Regions from separate parts of the Homo sapiens genome. Here region 2 is linked to region 1. Evidence: promoter capture Hi-C in human tissues and cell types (Jung and others, 2019). All regions are on one chromosome and are shown on one strand. Each heading gives the region's core, a stretch centred on a gene start or on the middle of the fragment in contact. The rest is flanking DNA. Distances are from core to core; before and after follow the strand shown.

Evidence for each region. The method cuts DNA at HindIII sites, captures the fragments that hold promoters and counts their contacts. A contact is called where the count stands out against the background at its distance.
Region 2: a contact is called between the fragment with the promoter of NPBWR2 here and the fragment with the promoter of SAMD10 in region 1, in 1 of the 25 tissues and cell types used here (spleen).

Annotation. Positions count from the first base shown.
Region 1 is chr20:63,978,034-63,980,891 of GRCh38, forward strand. It overlaps SAMD10 (sterile alpha motif domain containing 10), which reads right to left and starts at 1,609. Exons shown (of 5, transcript NM_080621.5): 1 at 1,344-1,609. The coding sequence starts at 1,434. RefSeq lists enhancers at 763-1,057, 1,043-1,558, 2,154-2,213 and a silencer at 1,404-1,723. The HindIII fragment of the contact is 26,934 bases long and covers 1-2,858 here.
Region 2 is chr20:64,106,247-64,108,946 of GRCh38, forward strand. It overlaps NPBWR2 (neuropeptides B and W receptor 2), which reads right to left and starts at 1,319. Exons shown (of 2, transcript NM_005286.4): 1 at 1,118-1,319; 2 at 1-676. The coding sequence starts at 585. RefSeq lists an enhancer at 867-1,367. The HindIII fragment of the contact is 24,186 bases long and covers 1-2,700 here.

The sequences.
Region 1 (2,858 bases), core at 359-2,858:
CTGTGCCGCCCCCCACAGGGCCTGCAGCCCGGGACAACACCGGCCATGTGAATGGTGGGTACCCATTGGATATGGGCGGGTCAGCACAGGTATGTGGGGTGCAGCCATTGCTTGGGGACCCACGGTGATGCTCTGTGCTCCCTCTTCCCACAGTAACTGCATTAAAGTGTTTCATCTGAGCTTTGTCATCATCTCTGGGGGCACTGCTGACCTGAGTCTGGGGAGGCAGGCGTCTTGATCCAGGTCTGGTTACAGAGGGGCACCCCACATTCATTGTCAATGAATGAATGAATGAAGGCTCTGTATGGTATCTGCAAGTGAACAGAGCCTGTGGGGAGACAGAAGGTGGGCACAGGCCTGCCCCTGTCTTTACAGCACCCTAGCACCCAGGCCTTCAGCAGGGCAGGTGAGGTTCCCACGCTAGGGCCCTCATCCCATCCACCCTAGAGTGAGAGACCCTCCCGGCCTCAGACTCAGCCACCCACTCCACACCCAGGGCAGGGGTTGGGGATGTGTCTAGGAGGTCTAAGTATCGGTGAAAACCACATCCTACTTCCCCGTCCTCCCACGCCTGTAAGACTTAGGAGACATAACACCTTCCGCCCCCATTCTTGCAACTTTCAGGAACCGGACCCCTGGGTGACTCCAAATTTGAGGTCTGGGGTCAGCAGAGGGTGTGCTCAGTGGGCCACCGCCCCGAGGTGGCCCCTAGTGCTGTGGGAAAAGGCTTATTCTAAGCCCGCGCCTTCCAGCGGACAGGCGCCGTGGTCGCCGGGCTTTGCAGGGCCTCGAGCGGCGGGGCTGGTGCAGAAGCGCGCGGCAGTCCGGGGAAACCCGTCGGACTCCTCAGCCCGCACGGCACCTGCCCCGGCCAAGCAGGCTCCGCCCATTTCCTGCCTGCACTCCCGGAGGGAGTTCCGTCCGTCCCGCGGTCTGTCGGTCCGGTCCCTCCCGCCCCAACGTCAGGATTCCAGAAGGAAATGGGGCGGGGGCACCGAGGCGGGATGTGACCTCGGCCCCCTTTCGGCCCCACTGCAAAAGCGGGGGAGGGTTTTCCCCGTGCGCAGGAAAAGGTGACCCGAGCGTAGTGCCAGCCTGGACACAGGCGCCCCGGCTTGACACCCCCTCACCCCAAGCCAAGGGCGCGCTGACCCCCAAGGCCTGAGGCTGGCTGCCCCCTAAAGCAGGACAAAGGCTACGGGACCCCGTTGAGCCGAGACATCCGCCGAATACCCCCAGCCACCGCCGCTCGAAGCCCGCCGGGTCCCGCCCCGCCCCCGTGCCTCTGGGTCCCTGAGACCCCCGCCCGAGAAATCCCCGCTCCCCAATCCAGCCCCGCTCACCGTCCACATCCCGGCGCTCCCCGAAGCCCGCGCGCACGGCCCCGGCGCGGCCACGCGGGGGGCTCAGCTTGGACCTCAGCTCGGTGAACATGGGGCCCGCGGGTGCCAGGCCCGCGCACACGCCCCTCGCCGAGTGCAGGGCGGCCGGTGTGGCCGGCGGGGAACGCGCGCCGCCGCCCCGCCCCGCCCCAGCCGGCCCCGCGCCCGAGCCGGTCCCCGCGGCCCGCGAGTGTGCGCGACGAGGCACCTGCCGCCGAGCCCTGTGTGCCGGGCGCGCTCCGGGAGCTCCGAGGTGTGTCGGCGGCGCGCGGGCCTGCGTGCACCAAGGCTGTCCGCCAGGGCGAGGGGCGTCCGTGCGCCCCTGGGCACGGCTCCGCGGAGGAGAGTCCCCGTGAACCTGCCGGGCGTCCTCTGAGGTCGGGCCCCTCTGTGCGTGGGGGTGGGCTGAGGGGCATCTCACAGGGGTCTTCTACCTACCGGGGCCAGGACAAGGGGCAGGTCAACGCCTCCCACACACTTTCCTCGGTCTCCTACGTCTTTACTCGCCTTCAAATAGGCACCCGCTTCCCCGGAGAAACCAGCTTGACTCTTGCTTACCGCCCACCCCACTGTGAACATCAGGGTGGTTCTCCCTTCCCTCTGCAGCCCCAGAACCTGGCTCAGTGCCCGGGGGAGAGGGGGCGGTACAGTGCTCTGTAACTGAAAGGGGCTTGGCTTGCCTGGAGATGGGGCAGAGGGGAACTCCAAGGAGGCTGTAGCAGGCCGGAGCGGTGTGTTTGCTCCAGGACTCCAGTGAGAAGTGCTGAGATGGGGCTGGGCTAGGGAACTGTGGTTGCCTGGTGCAGCAGCAGGCCAGGCTTGCAACCAGCTATTCGGCTTGCTCTGCCCAGGAGCCTGGGTGCTCTCCCTGGGTGTATGTAGGGGCTCTGGAGGATGTCTTACAGCAGGAGGACCAGAGATGCACACAGACATGTAGAAATGCATGCACAGAGTACAGTCATGCACTTGCACCCAAAACACGAGCACACGTGACCTCTGTGCACACACCCCACTAATCACACACACAGAATTCACCCACATGCTTGACAGCCATGTTCATGTACTGACGTGTTCCCGACAGCTCAGCTGCGGTTATTTATTTCGTCAATTAGCTCTCCAGGAGCTAAGGATGTGGCCCTCACCAGAATGTCCAAGGCATGTTGGCGGGCGTGGGTGGGGTCTCTAGTCCCACTGGAGGGACAGATGCCTGAATGGGGGTTCAAGAATATGAGTGCTAAAAGCGTAGGGCAGCAGTGTGCGCACAGGACGCACACAGACAGGTGTGCCCATAACCAGTACACACAAGCTCTACACAACTGGACAGGGTACAGCTCTGCTCGGACAGGGCGCACCAGGGGCGAGGGCGGGCAGCTGGGCTGGTTCAGAGGGAGGGGGCCATGGGTTCAGAGGGAGGGGACCATGGGTCCCACTCTCACAGACAGGTCTCCGGACTGCATCAGAGCACTCGGGAAGCAG
Region 2 (2,700 bases), core at 69-2,568, 130 kb after region 1:
TGGGACCTGCAGCTCGTTGCTGTAGACGCCAGCGAAAGAGAAGAAGGGCAGAACCAGGACCGTGACGCCCAGCCAGACACACAGGCTGGCGACCTTCGCCCCCCGGTAGGTGCGCCAGGGCATGTGGCGGGACCTCACGGTGGCCAGCACCACCAGGTATCGGTCCACGCTCATCACGGCTAGGAAGTAGATGCTGGAGAAGATGTTGTAGTGGTCGACGGCCAGCACCAGCTTGCAGAGCAGCTCCCCGAAGGGCCAGTACTGCAGCAGGTGCTCCGCGATGTTGACGGGCAGTACCAGCGTGAAGAGCCCGTCGGCGACGGCCAGGTTCAGGATGAACACGTTGGTCACCGTCTTCATCTTGGGCGCCCTTAGGATTACAAGGATGACGGCCGTGTTGCCAGTCAGCCCCACAGCACAGATCCCGGAGTACACGGCGGGCAGGAGCACATAGAGGAACGGCAGTGGCTCGGAGAAGGTGGCATTGTGGCCAGTGCCATTGTCCTGAGAGACGTTGGCACCCATCGTGGGGAGGGAGAAGGAGCCCCTGCTGTCAAGGGGCTCTGGGTGCCCAGCGGCCTGCATTGTAGCTGGGACCGTTGACGATTTGCGCCCTGGGCAGGTGGGAGGTGCCTTGGAGTTGGGTATCTGGTTGGGGGCCTCCTTGGGCTGGATTCTAGGAAAGAAAAACAACCAGAGACTTTGAGATCCGGCCGTCTGTTAGGGCACAGCCACTCCAGGTTCTCTGGCAGAGACTGCGGCCACTTTGCCAGGTCAAGGACATGGGGCCAGAGGGAGCCTGGTGGGGTGTGTGGGGGCCTCCTCCCGCCTCTTCCTGGTGAGACTTCAGCAGATCAGTTCCCTCCTCCCGCAGAGAGCAGCTGCTGGCCACCCTCCTGGGAAGAGATGTGGATCCGTCCCTGCCCCAGCAACCCGCAGATGCACGGGCTGCGTAGAATCAAGCGGTCCCTTTGGAAACACACCTCCCAAGCTCATCTCTGGCTCCCTTGAATCTGAAGGTCCTTCCCTCAGGGGTCTTGGAGTCTGCACCCTCCCTCACACCCTCCCGAGAGATGCTGCAGACCCTGCTGGTCCAGCTACTCTTCTCTCCACTGACCTGTCCAGTGCTTCGAGTCCAGAAGTTGGTAGCCTTGGTGTGTTCCTGGTTTTGGCCAGTACAGGCAGTCGCAGGGATGGAGGGCGAGGTGTGGTCCTCACTGACAGACCTCCAGCTGAGGTTTCAGGAGTTTCAAGACCTGCCCTGCTGGCTGCCTCAGCCCCGGCTGCGAGGTTCCCAGCCTGGTGTCAGTGCTGATGCTGGTGAGGGAGGGAGGCGGATCCCCCTTGCTGACGTGGAGCCCGGAAGGCAGGCCCCACCTTCCCCTGAGCTGCAGTAGCGCCTGCAGTCGGCTGTCCCAGGGTCTCCTCAGCATTCACTTACCCAGGCAGACTCCTCAGTGGGCGGCTGAGGCACGTGTGCGCCTGTGTGTCAGGAAGGGACTCCATGCAGGGGCCTCTGGGTGTGCCCAGGTCTTCGGGCAGAGGGCACTGAAGGCATCTGTGCCTCTGTCCGGGAGTCACTGTGGGCCTGGGCACCCTTATCTGTGAACATGGGTGTCTTGGTGGGTCTCCTGCCCCACCCTGTGTGTGTACATGGTGTGTTCCTGTGTGTGTGTGCCAGTTAGGACATGTACGTGTGTGGGCCTGTGTCTGCCTGTATGGGGGTCTCTGTGGGTGAGCTCTGCGTTGTATCTGAGTGGGTCTACATGTCCTTGGCTGAGTGTGGGCATCTGGGGGGTCTGTATGCCCTCATGTGGAAGCAGAACTTGTTGGCCATAGGCAACCCACCTTCTTTTTTTGTCTTTTGCTAAAAGAGGAACTCAGCCTAGGCAAGCTGTGAAAGGCTGCAGAGAAGACGTTCTCACGCTGACACGTAACTCTCCCGCCGTCCTGCAGAGGTGGTGAGCATCACACTCTGCTCTGGGTTGGTCTTTAAGTCCTTCCCTTCTCCCTGCTTTTCTTCCTTGCTGGACGCACCCTGGCTTATCCAACCCGTGTGTGTGCAGCTCGGCCGCATCTGGACCTGCTTTGCAGGCAACGCCACAGCTGACACGAGCAGTCGCCAGTCTCAGAGCCGCTCCTCAGCGGAGACGTGTTGGGTCAGAGGGTCTGTGTTTTCTTTCCTTTCTTCTTTTTTGAGACAGGGTCTTGCCCTGTCACCCAGGCTGGGGTGCAGTGGCACTATCATGGCTCACTGCAGCCCTGACCTCCCTGGGCTCAGGTGATCCTCCCACCTCAGCCTCTCAAGTAGCTGGGACTACAGGCATGTGCCACCATGCCTGGCTAATTTTTGTGTTTTTTTTTGTAGAGACGGGGTTTCACCATGTTGCCCAGGCTGGTCTCGATCTCCTGAGCTTCAGCCTCTACCTCAGCCTCCCAAAGTGCTCAGGTTATAGCCATGACCCACCGTGCCTGGTCACTGTGTGTTTTCAGTCTGGGGAGATGTGTCTGCCCATCGAGACTGTGCCCGCTGCCTGTGGGGTTGCAAGGATGTCACCGCACACTCATGGTCGGCCTTCTTTCCTGAGAGTTGCTCTGTCAAGTCTATTGGTTAGGACAGGAGCCTGGGCAGTCGCCCTGAGTACCCTGATGTCGCCAGCCTGAGGGTACACTGTGGGTGGGCCCCGAGCTACCCTTCTA